2 separate regions of the Homo sapiens genome follow, and region 1 is linked to region 2. The links are contacts of gene promoters, found by promoter capture Hi-C in blood cells and fetal thymus (Javierre and others, 2016). All regions are on one chromosome and are shown on one strand. Each heading gives the region's core, a stretch centred on a gene start or on the middle of the fragment in contact. The rest is flanking DNA. Distances are from core to core; before and after follow the strand shown.

Region 1 (6,388 bases), core at 1,757-4,256, 540 kb before region 2:
CAGCTACTCAGGAGGCTAAGGCAGGAGAATTGCTTGAACCCGGGAAGCGGAGGTTTCAGTGAGCCGAGATCACCCCACTGCACTCCAGCCTGAGCAACAGAGCTAGACTCTATCTCAAAAACAAAAAAAACCTCGATCTCAAAAAAAAAAACAACATTATTAAGATGAATAATGGAGCTTGCAAAAAAGTAAGGCTATGAATAGCCAGTGGTTAAAAATGAAAAGAGAATTAAAAATCTAAATAGCCTGTAAGAGGCTGCTGTGGCGTGGCTGCTCTAGAGAATTTTGTAGGCCTTGAGAAATCTATCAGCTTGGATTCATTGCCCAAGTGGGAAACGGAGATAAGGATTTGGGCCCTTAAGAGGCAGAGAGTTGGGCTGACACCTTTCTCCTACCCCTAGTCCCTGGTCCTGGTAGAGGACCAGGAATCTCAAAGGGCCACATTCAGAGTAGATAAGAAAAAAATCTGTTCAATGGGACCAGGAGATAATGAAAGCTTGTCTGTCATAGGTTGTTGGGAGACTTAAAAAAAAAAAAAAAGAAAAACAACACCCTGAGATTTAAAAATTATAGATATATCTTCACATGGGTTTAGAGTGCCCATTTATATTACCTGTGAGGTCCAGGAATCTCCAAGCTTAGAAATTACTTAAGTTAGCTCAAAGTCAATAATACTCCTAAGGCACCTGACAGAGGCAAATACAAAACAGCTAGGAAGAGACAAGGCTTCCATCCAGCCAAGATAAGCTTACCAGAAACAAACAGAAATTACATCAATCACAAGGAAACAAGACTGCAGTCCTAACAACCAACAAGACAAAAATGGTCAGTATTTAACCTCCAAGAACTTTAGATAATTGAACTATTGGACAAATAACATTTAAAAAGTGTGTTTAAGCAACTGAGATAGAAAAAGGAACTGAAAACATAAGAATAAAAAATATTCTACAAAAACCTGGCATAATTGAAAAGGACCAAATAAAACTATAAAATGAGAACAAGTGGCTGAAATTAAAAAACTCAATGAATTAGTTAAATAACAGTTTAGACATTACTAAAGAAAGAGCTGATGAGTCCACAGTGACTAAACCAAAAAAGCTGGGGTGGGGGTAAAACAGAATGCTCCTCTTTAGAGAAGAATGCCAAACTATGAAGTGTAGAAATAAATAATTAGAAAATCTCCACTTTGGCCAGGCGCAGTGACTCACACTTGTAATCCCAGCACTTTGGGAGGCCAAGGCGGGCGGATCACAAGGTCAGGAGATCGAGACCATCCTGGCTAACATGGTGAAACCCCGTCTCTACTAAAAATACAAAAAATTAGCCAGGCGTGGTGGCAGGCACCTGTAGTCCCAGCTACTCGGGAGGCTGAAGCAGGAGAATGGCATGAACCCGGGAGGCGGAGCTTGCAGCGAGCCGAGATCACACCACTGCACTCCAGCCGGGGTGACAGAGTGAGACTCCGTATCAAAAAAAAAAAAAAAAAAAAAAAAAGAAAATCTCTACTTTATAATCACCACTTTATCAAGGACAAGGATCATCAACAGATGCTAAAATCACTGGGTAAAAGGCTGTTAAGGAAACAGGACATAAAGGGAAAATCATGAAGAAATCCAGTTGCTATCAACTTAACCAAGTGATCCTATTTTATTATATATTACCGACAAAGAGACAAAGCAGCATCACGTATCTCCTGATGTGATACACTGAAAAGGACATGCCACCACCCATGTTGTATTCTTGCCAGAAAATAATATTTAAACGGAATCTAACAGTAACAAAATGATCAAACAAATCTGAATTTTCAAAACAACAGCCTCATCTCTTCAAAATGTAAATGTCATAAAAGAAAACAAAACAAAAAATCCCACAAAACCCACACTATCCAAATGGTTTCGATTTAAGGAGACAACAGAAGCACAAGTAAATGCAATATGTGATACCTGATTGGATCCTGCATCAATAAAAGAAAAAAAAAGCACTACAAGGGTCAGTATTGGGTCAACTGGGGAAATGTGAATATGAACACCCATAGTATCTTAAGCATGACAATCATATTGTCATTATTCATTTATTTATTTTTTCTTTGAGACAGAGTCTCACTCTGTCACCCAGGCTGGAGTGCAGTGGTGTGATCTCGGTTCACTGCAACCTCCGCCTCCCGGATTCAAGCGATTCTCCTGCCCCAGCCTCCAGAGTGGCTGGGATACAGGCTCGCGTCACCAAGCCTCGCTAATTTTTTAGTAGAGGTGGGGTTTCACCATGTTGGTCAGAAAATCCTGACCTGGTCTCAAAATCCTGACCTCATGATCCACCTGCCTCAGCCTCCCAAAGTGCTGGGATTACAAGCGTGAGCCACTGAGCCCAGCCCATATTGTAGTTATAAAGGAAGATGTCTTGGTCTTAGGAGATGCATGTGAAATATTCAGGAATGAAGTGGAATGATGCCCGCAACTTCCTTTCAAATGATTCAGCAAAAAAGTGTGCATGAGAGAGAGAATATGAGGGCCTGGTTTTTCACTACTGGAGAAAGTTACAAATACGAAAAGTGGGGAGGACAGAATAAACTGTATAGCTGGACTGGAACTAGAAGTAACATTATAAACTCATGGTTTTTTAAAAACATAGAATAACACATATAGATGTGTGTGTGTACATATATCTGTGTATATGTCCATACAAATATTTCCTAGAGGACCTGGAGTAATGATACCTCAATAATAACAGTGTGCCCAGTGCCCAGATAATAATTTCTAAGTATCATTCTCCATTAAAAGGAATCAGGGCTCTTAGAGAAACAGACTGACTCTGGAGCTAGCCAGGGAAAACACAAAATGAGCCTGACCTATTTTGTGGTGCTAGAAAGGTGGCGCGGGCAGGGGGATTAGCTCAAAGAATGATAGTGTCATGTCAAAAGAACAGAGAAGTCAGCTTACAGAGGATCCCACTAGCCCAATCTGAGACAATCAAATCGTCAACATAAGTGAATGATTAGGGAGAAGAAACCTTTATCTTACAGAATACCAACAAATAAATGTAAAAGGCAGCTGCACAATAATGTAAATGTACTTACCACCACTTAATTAAACACTTCAAATGGCTAATATTGGGCCAGGCGCGGTGGCTCACGGCTGTAATTCCCAGCACTTTGGAGGCCGAGGCGGGCAGATCACCTGAGGTCAGGAGTTTGAGACCAGCCTGGCCAACAAGGGGAAACCCTGTCTCTACTAAAAATACAAAAATTAGCCAGGCATGGTGGCAGATGCCTGTAATCCTAGCTACTTGGAAAGCTGAGGCAGGAGAATCGCTTGAACCTGGGAGGCAGAAGTTGCAGTAAGCCGAGATCGCACCACTGCACTCCAGCCTGGGCGACAGAGCCAAGACTCCATCTCAAAAAAAGAAAAAAAAAAGGCTAATATTGTAAATTTTATGTATACTGTATTACAGTAAAAAAAAAAAAGGAAAAATGTTAAAGGAATAAACATAGAAGAAATGATGAAATTGGAAAGCTCCATGACAACCAACATAGTAATAATTTTGAAAATAATCTTAAAAGGATGTTAGAACTAGTAAGTCAAAGTTTGATGGGGTCAGGCACAATGGCTTACGCCTATAATCCCAGCACTTTTGGAGGCCAAAGTGGGTGGATTGTGTGAGCTCAGGAGTTCGAGACCAGCCTGGGCAACATGGCAAAACCCGGTCTCTACTAAAAACACAAAAATTAGCATGGCATGGTGGCATGCATCTGTAGTCCCAGCTACTCAGGAGGCTGAGGTGGGAGAGGCACCTGAGCGCTGAATTCAAGGCTGCAGCGAGCCAAGACTGCACCACTGCAACAGTGAGACCTAGTCTCAAAAAAAAAAAAAAAGTTTGATGGGGACCAAATAACTATATAGTTTTAGATCAGTAGCTTCCCACAAAATACTTATTAATCATTTATTAATTTGCACAAAATACTTAATTTTCGAAAACCCATGGGTATAGAAGGGCTAAAAGTATAGGGATAGAGATAGATATACCAGCCAGATACTAACCAAAAGGAAATTAATATAGATGTGTCAATGTCAGACAAAATAGACTTTAAGGCAAAAAGCCTAAGAGATAAAGATAAGTGGCATAATTCACCAGAATGATATTCACAATTCTGAATTTACATGCATTTAACGTAATCTCGTATGTATACTTAGCAAATCTGACAGAATTGCAAGAAAACATTTAATGGAAGACAATCAACGGGAGCTTTTGGCACACTTTCTTAATAACCAATAGATAAAGCAGATAAAAATTAGTAAGATAAAGTATTTAAGAATACCATCAAGAAGTGTGACAGTGAACAAATATAGAGCCCCAAATTTAGAGACTCTGCATTCTGTTCAATATACCAAAGCCATTTACAGAAAAGTGATCACATAGTAGACCTAAAAGCAAGTCTCAAACAAACAAACACAAAATTGATAGGTACAGATCAGATTCTCTAACCACAGTAAAATTAACTTAGGAGAAAAAAAAGGTAACCAAGCCTTTTCAGGCTTGAAAATTAAAAGCAACACCAATAACACTTCCAAACAATAATAATATTACTTCTAAATAGCTCCTACTGGGATAAAGAATAAAAGTGAAGTCAGAAAATATCTGGGTATTACAAAGATGTGCCAAGGATACATAGGTTCTTTGTATTATACTCTGTATTAAAGTTTCAGTAGACTCAAAATATTTCAAATTTTTTTCAAAAAGCATGTATCAAAAATAAGAAGATAGTATTGACTGGTTTCTGTAACATCTGTGGCACTTTCAGGCAAAATGAAATTAGAAATCACTGGTGAGACTCCAAGCGACACAAAGAGTCATGGTCCAATAACCGGCTTCCTCGCCACAGCTGAGTATTAGCGCCTAATATGCTTTCGTGAAAGTTCCTGACGGGGGAAAAATCATTACTCAGTTCAATAACCTAATTTGGTTTCAAATAATTGACTCTGTAATAATCAAATTCACCCCAAACAGATTAAGATTTGCTAACACTCTTTCCCAAGGTAAACTATAGGCTTTCAGGAAATACTAAAACGCAAGTTTTAAAATGTTATGAAAAACAGCAGCGCTTCTCGAGTAAATACATGTTCTCTCTTTCAGCCTGCTCTGCCACACCAACCTTCCAAAAGACTACTTGAAAAGAGACAGCTATAATTTGAGTAAGTTCACTACGCACTGCTTCAAAACATTATTTTGTAGCCTCAACTTTAAATAGAAATTGTAACTTACATTATACGAAAAAGCTTTCAATCTTATTGTAGGTTTGAGATTTCTTAGTTTAGCTATATTTCACTTCCTAAATTTAGTGAACTTAATTCTAACTGCATAAAATAATGTTACATATAAAGTAAAACAAAACATGCTAAGCTAATAAAGTATGTTAGTATGGATATTAAAATAATGAAAATAGTAGGTTAAGGATTGACACCAAAAATATGTATAGTAGATATACAGAAATATATATGTACCCAGCTTAACCCTATGCTGTTTCTCCTCTTCACTTCTGAGAAAAGTATCCAAAGTTCGTAGGTCGGTCATGTAGTCTTCTTTGTCAGTAGGTGAGTTGTAGACGGTAGGTGAAGAACGGTAGCGAGATCTCAATCCACTGCTCTCCACTGGTCCAACAGTGGTAGGGTACGGAGAAGGAGGAGAGGGGCTAAAGCTCGCCAACTATACAAAATAAAAGATCTTTACTTTATTTTTCTTTAATTGAAATTCATTTTGTTTTGGTTTTTGACTTAAGTAAAACACCTAGTAGAATGGCGAAAATCCACAATACTGACAACATCAAACGCTGATGAGGTTGTGGAACAACAGAATCTCTCATTCTTTGCTGGTGGGAATGCAAAATGATACAGCCACTTTGAAACAGTCTGGCTGTTTCTTACAAAAGTAAATATTATCTTACCATACGAACTAGTAATTGTGCTCCTTAGTATTACCCAAGGAGTTGAAAACTTACGGCCACACACAAACCTGTATGTTTATGGCAGCTTTATTCCTAATGGCCAAAACTTGAAAGCAACCAAGATGCCCTTCAGTAGGTGAACGAGTAAATAAACTGGCAAAATTAGGTAATGGAGTATTAGCACTAAAAAGAAGTGAGCTATTGCTGGGCACGGTGGCTCACACCTATAATCCCAGCACTTTTGGAGGCTGAGGTGGGCGGATCACCTGAGGTCGGTGACCAGCCTGACCAACATGGAGAAACCCTGTGTCTACTTAAAATACAAAATTAGCTGGGCGTGGTGGTGCATGCCTATAATCCCAGCTACTCGGGAGGCTGAGGCAGGAGAATCGCTTAAACCCCGGGAGGCGGAGGTTGTGGCGAGCCAAGATCGCGCGACTGCACTCCAGCCTG
Region 2 (6,563 bases), core at 1,449-3,948:
TATGACTTTGAGCTTATCTAGTCTTCAGTATCCTCATCTGCAAAATAGGGGAAAGCAATTTGTTTAACCAGATGCCCGTTAGGGTCCTATGAGATTACAGCATCTTCCCCAAGTGTCAGTGATGGACTATTGCAAAATATTCAGGAGGGGGCCAGAGGGGATCTCCCAGGGCAGGAAATGCCTTTCAGCCTCATCTCTAAAGAAAGGGTCACATATATACACATTCATACATACACAAGCAGAGTGGTCAGTGATTTCATCCACAGCAGCAGAGACACATATAGAAAAAACAAATACTGTTGATGTCTGATTCCTTCTTATCGGGAAAGGGGCCCTGAGGATATAACTTGGAGGGACTATATGGTCAGAGGAGAAAGTTCCTCCTATTTCATAATAGCTATCACCTTGCTACTCCTTCCTCAAATCCAAGGCAGCCAGCTCCTTGGAAGAAACCAGTCTGTTACCCTTCCCTCTCCCACCCACCAACTCACCTGTTTCAGAAACGAAAATCTGCAGACTCTGAGGGAAATAACCCCCTAGTTAGCCATTAGGAAATTAACAGAATCTACCACTCCTGAGATTACATAAGGTGGGGCAGCTGTGTCCACACGCCTCTATTTCCCTGAAAGTTATCAATGGTTATGAGCGGTCTTGTTTCGGGCCCCGCCCAAACTTAAGGTCGCTTGAGTTTTCTCTCTGAGTGAAGGGGGAACTAGTCTGGACCACCCTTTTCTTGCTGGTGCCTTTACGGTAGTTTTCAAATTGTTTAACCAATCTCAGCGTGAGAGTGAGCCAGGAAGTTACCATCCTCAAGTAGGAATCCAAATGGGGAGAAGGGCTACGACGCAAGCGCAGGGTTCCAAATCATGCAACAGGACCTGCAAACAGACTCACACCCCAGACATCAAGAAGTATCTCCCAGCCACACATCTACATGGAGCTTATGTGGCCTCTCCTAGCAGAGGTAGCTGGGGCAATTGGGGGATTGGAGGGCATAAGCCTCCCATCAACCTGGGATCCCTATTTAAAAGATGCTAAAAATAAATTAGTAAACATTGCTGTTTACAGAAATAGAAATCATTTCTGTTTCCAAAGGCCTCTCACCATCCCAGTCCTGGACATTTCCAAGACTGCCACCCCTGACACCCTCTCCAAGGTCCGCCCTGGTGGATGGGTGAGACACCAGAGTCCTTTGAGACTGGGAGCTCCTCAGGCATCTGAGAATTCCAGTTTCACATCCCTGGTTCCAGGGAGGGGAGAATCTTCAGTACTCTGGAGAGTACGGGAGTTCATCCCTTCTTATCAGTTCCTGGGGGCTGTCTTGAGGCAACCCCCACTTTTAGGATGATATACACGTTGCAAGAATTCCCGCTATTTTCCGGCCCCCAGTACCTCCCCAGAGTCCACATGTCTGCCTGGACCCACCCTCAGAGCAGAGGAACCAGTCTGTGCCTTGGTGTAATGACTCTGGGAAAGAAGGATGGGCAGAGAGAAAGCAGGGACAACGGCCTGGGGGATCATCCTTGAGGGTAAGACTGACAGCAATGACTGTCCTACAGGCAGGTGGTGAAGCTGGGCGCCGGGCCGGGACCGGAGCCGGAGGCGGAGCTTTCCACCTCGCTGGTGAGTGGCGGGTCGATGCGGGGAGTTCGACGACGTCCCCGGTACTCGATCATATCTGGATGATAGGTTGGGTGGCGGCGAGCATGCTTGGTCAGGTGGTCGCTCCGGGAGAACTGCTTGGGGCAGAGGGGGCAGGAGAAGCGCTTCTCGCCCGTGTGCGTCCTGTAGTGGCGGGCCAGCTCGTCGGAACGCGTAAACTTCTTGTCGCAGTCGAGCCAGTCGCAGGAGAAAGGGCGCTCACCCGTGTGGGTGCGCTGGTGGGACTTGAGGTGCGACGACTTGTAATAGGCTTTGGTGCAGCCCGGGAAGGGGCATTGGTGGCGCTTGGCAGCAGGTGTGACAGACCTCCTCCGGGGCGCCTGATCCGCGGCGGGGGCGGGGCCTGCCCCTAGGGCCCCTCCAGAGAACCCACCAGAGGCTGCTGGTGCGCCCGGGGCAGCAGGCGCGCTTGGGACGGCGGGCGCATCGGAGGAGCTCTCGGGAGCGCAGACCGCCGCGGCGCCGGAGGCGGGAGCCAGCTCGGAGCACGGGGTCTGGACGGAGCACGGGATCGGGTCGGAGAAGCCGGACGAGGCGCGTGGAGCTTCCCCCGAGTTCTCCCAGGAGCCCTCGCCAGAGCTGCCGCGCAAGTCCGCCCAGACGCTTGCAGCCAGCAGGTGGGGCGCGGCGCCGCCCGCGCCGGGGCTGGGGGCGGGGACCTGCGGGAGCTGGGGGACCGACGCGGGCCCCGGTGGCCCCGGACCCGGCAGAGCGGACTCCGGCGGCGCCGCACCCACCTCCGAGCCAGCGGCTCCACCCGCGCCCTCGGGGTCCGGCGGGCGGCGGTGAACCACGGCGCCCGCGGACATGGACACCAGGCACTCGGCGGCGAAGTAGTCCAGGCACGCCACGGCGGCCGACATGCTGGGACCGCCCGGCCGCCGGCGAGCGCCGTCCGAACGCGGCCGGCCGCGGGCGACGGAGTTCCCGGGAGCGTCCGTCCCGCAGCCTCGGAGCGAGAAGCAGGAGGCCGGGTGCTCGCCGCCTGCCGCCTGCTGCCGCCGCCGCCGCCGCAGCCGCCGCTGCCGCCGCCGCCCGCGCGGAGCCCGCCCCGCCTGACGCGCCCCTGACGCACCGGAGCCCGCGGGGGCGGCAGAGACCCGCCCCGGCCCGCAGGACACCCCCTCGGAACGCGCGGCCCCCGGCTAAGTCATGTTTAACAGCCTCAGAAATTATCTTGTCTCCGCGTTCTTTCTTCTGCCGGCGAGCCAGGTAATGGTAACAGAGCGAAACTCCCCAGTCGGAACTTCTGGGTTGCAGCAGCCTCGCCCCCCCTCCCCGCAGCCCGCCGCCCGCTGGTCCGTCGCCAGCTGGGTGTCCCGCGGAGTCCCAGAAAGTTTTTTTTTTTTTTAAGGAAAAAAATTGCTAATACCTGACATGTCTTTCGGTTCATAATTGCGATTGTTAGCGAAGTGGTCTCGAATTCCATTTCACTCCCCGTTCGCCGCTCTCAGACTAAATTGCAAATATCCCCAAGTCTGTAGCAAAAAAAGTTTTCTCATTGAGCAGGTCAACTGTGAACCCGGGGCCGGGAGCAGTTCCCTAAATAGATCCGCTACGTAGCCATTAATTAATAGCATCTCGAACCAGAAACAGTTTTAACCTTGGAAAAGCAAAGAATCCTCTCCCGGTTGAAATTGAAACTTAAAATCCTTTGAGTAACGATTTAACTATTCAGCCAACGAAAGAAAAATGCATGTTTAAACTGCATTAACCTGTCACTGGCATCCAAACAAATTTAAACGCTGAGATATAAATTATAGTCTAGCGGCGAGATAAACACATTAAAATGGACTCCCACCATTTTAATAATAGAAAGTCACGTTTCCAATTAGGCATTATCTTGTAATTTGCTTTTGACGAAAGTTAAATGTAAGGAAATGCAGCACATGATATAGAATGCTCATATGGTGTTTTGTGATTGTGGAGGTTTGCCTTTTTTATAATCAAATGCATGTACGGTTTCTTTTACGTGTCTTCATTGCTCTCATTTTTTCCCTCGTTTTTCTTTTTAAAAATGTAAAACTACATAGAAAAACAAACAGGATAATTTCTAAAAATAGTCATATCTTAGTTTTTGATGTATACAAGCTTTTATATGAGTGAATTGTGTGCATTTTATTTGTAGTTCTTCAGTACTTTTTCTTTTGAAAATTAATACGTATGTATCAAGAATAACATACGTTCATGTATTTACTGCCTAGGGTAATCAAATGTGAAATTTTTGTTATAGTTGTTTCATGTTTTTATTTATATTAAACATTACAGATAGAGTTGAATGTCACTTTGTTTCCCTCCCCAGTTCCATTCACCTTTCTCCCTCTTCACTTTTCTAGGTAATTAGTATTATAAAGTGGCTATTTAATCTGCATTTGTTTTGATACCCGTATTACCTAATTATACATGTAAATATATGTATATCTCCATGCTTATTTATTAAAATTTTTAAGTAAATGGTTCACTAGTATACATATCATTTTGCAACTTCTTTCCCTCAATATGATTTTGACAGCTATCCAGGTTGACACCTATAGAATCTACTTTATTCATTTCAGCAGTTTTTAAATAATATTGTCAGTGTTATTATTTTTAAGGCGATTCCATTGCAAAACAGTTAATTTTTCTGAAGTTCCTCTAGACGATTAACTCTTCGTTAATCTACACATTAAAATCTATCAGATAGAATAATTTACTAGCTGTTTTAATTTTATTATTTAGAAAAAATGTGAAGATATTTAAAATGCAGAGAGAACATTACAAGCACCCATATACCTGTCTCATATAATGAATATGTTAACATTTTGTTATATCTCCCTCAGATCTATTAAGTATTCAACATTTCTGATAAAATTGAAGGTCCCCTTGTACTGCCCCCAATACCATTCTCCACCCTTTTCCCCAAAGGCAAACACTAACATGAATTTGGTATGTAACTTTCCAGTCTGGGTTTTACAATTTAACTGGATGTGAACCTATAAAATGCAGAATATTGGTTTATATGATTTTTTTAAATGTACAAACATGGTATTAGGCTGTGCATATTATTCTTGGACTTATTTTTTTCATTCATGGTATGTTTTTATTTTTTCTCTTCGTGTTGATAAATATAGATCCAATTCATTCATTTTAATTGCTATAGTGTGGATCCATGCATACAAATGTGTCCTGTTTATTCATTCCCCTATTGATGAATATTAAACTGCTGCCAATATTTTGGTACTACTTGTACATGTTTCCTTTGCACATATGTGAGAATTTCTCTATGTATCTACCTAGATGGGGAATTGCCGGGCTCCACACACATTTTCAGTTTTGCGAGAGACTGCCAAATGCTTCAATTTGCACACCCATCAGAAGTGTGTGACAGTTCACGTTTCCCTCACATGATCTTCAACACTTTCTAGATTAAGATTTTTATTATTCCTGCCAATTTGATTATTTTAAAAAACAGTATCTTGTTGTCTTATTTGAATTTCCCTCACTGCTAGCAAAGTTAAGCATTTTTTCCCCATATGTTTGTTGGTTATTGAGGTTTCCAAGTCTGTGATTTGTTTTTTCACAGTCTTCATTCATTTTTTTCAGTAGATCGTGTATGTTTTATCTTTTTTCCTCCTGATTTGTAGGAATTCATGCGTGTAAACATTAAATATATTGTCTCAGTCTGTGGCTTGTCTTTTAACTGCTTTTGATGTCTTTTGTACTATAGACAATTTAAAATGTACTCATATTCATTGATCTCTTTCTTTATAGTGTCATTTGTGGATTATTAAAGAAACCTCTCCATACCTGATGCATAAAGGTAGCCTCTTATGTCTTCTTCCTTAATGTTTTAAAGTTTTGCTTTCCACACGAGATTGATCTATCTGGGACTTATTTTTTTTGAATGGTGTAAAGTAGGAATTCAATAATTTTACTCCTCCCTTTCCCCCAACCCCCATATGGAAGGCGTGTGGTAACCCGATTTACTGAACAGTCCTTCGTGTCCCTATTAATATGTAATGCCACCATGATTGTAAATTAAATTTCTATGTATTCATGGATGTGTTTCTAGTTTGTCCTTTTCCACTAATCAAACCAAATTTGAGCCAATACCACAGTCTTAATTACCATGGCTTTGTAAATCTTGATGTGCAGAAGGACATATCCTCTCTTTGTTCATTTAAAAAATTGTTAGGTAATGTACACATCATTTTGCAACTTGCTTTTCTCCCTCCATGTGATTTTGAGAGCTACTCATGTTGATACCTGTAGAATCTGCTTTATTAATTTCATGAATGTATAGGCTATTTTTGGACTTCTATTCTTCTATACTAACTTTAGCATTAGTTTGTCAAGTTGCATTGAAAAACTCTTTTGGTATTTTGCTTAGTTAAATTTATAGGTTAAAATTGGGGAGCTATGACAACTTCATAAAATTGAGCCAACTAGTACATTAATATTCTGATTTTTAAATGTCTTTCAATAACATTTTATAATTTGTTTATAAAAGTATTGTACCTCTTTGTTAGACTTACTCCTATTGTACCTTACAGCTTTTGCTGCTATTATAAGTGAGATCTCTTTTCTATTAAATGTTTAAATTGGTCATTGCTGCTACTGTCATTGGTAGAGATCCTGTAGATTTTGGAATAACCTGAAAACTGTGTTAGATAATGCTGGCAAACATGCTGAACTTATTAGTTAAATAGTTTATTTGTAGATTCTCTTGTGTTTTCATGTAAATGATAATATTATCTATAAATAACACCCCTAATACATTTTCCCCTTTCTTATCTCTTTGCATGGGCTGGGACCTTCAATATAACATCAGATAGTTAAGGGTGAGTGCAAGCATTGTTTTCCTATTTTTATCTGATTGAAAATGTTTCTCATGTGTCATAATTATGATATTTGTTGTAAGT

The links. The method cuts DNA at HindIII sites, captures the fragments that hold promoters and counts their contacts. A CHiCAGO score of 5 or more calls a contact.
Region 1: a fragment that was not itself captured here is called in contact with the fragment with the promoter of KLF14 in region 2 in 9 of 17 cell types (endothelial precursors, megakaryocytes, erythroblasts and 6 more); the score reaches 8.9 in endothelial precursors.

What each region holds. Positions count from the first base shown.
Region 1 is chr7:130,187,127-130,193,514 of GRCh38, forward strand. It overlaps TMEM209 (transmembrane protein 209), which reads right to left. Exons shown (of 15, transcript NM_032842.4): 6 at 5,496-5,697. It overlaps LOC124901745 (a long non-coding RNA gene), which reads left to right and starts at 4,954. Exons shown (of 3, transcript XR_007060522.1): 1 at 4,954-5,186. The HindIII fragment of the contact is 4,523 bases long and covers 746-5,268 here.
Region 2 is chr7:130,731,509-130,738,071 of GRCh38, forward strand. It overlaps KLF14 (KLF transcription factor 14), which reads right to left and starts at 2,699. Exons shown (of 1, transcript NM_138693.4): 1 at 1-2,699. The coding sequence starts at 2,525. The coding sequence ends at 1,554. LOC105375508 (a long non-coding RNA gene) reads left to right here and starts at 2,756. Exons shown (of 4, transcript XR_927978.3): 1 at 2,756-2,874; 2 at 5,413-5,461; 3 at 6,473-6,482. RefSeq lists an enhancer at 1,770-2,307 and silencers at 2,203-2,362, 2,433-2,512. The HindIII fragment of the contact is 4,510 bases long and covers 1-3,751 here.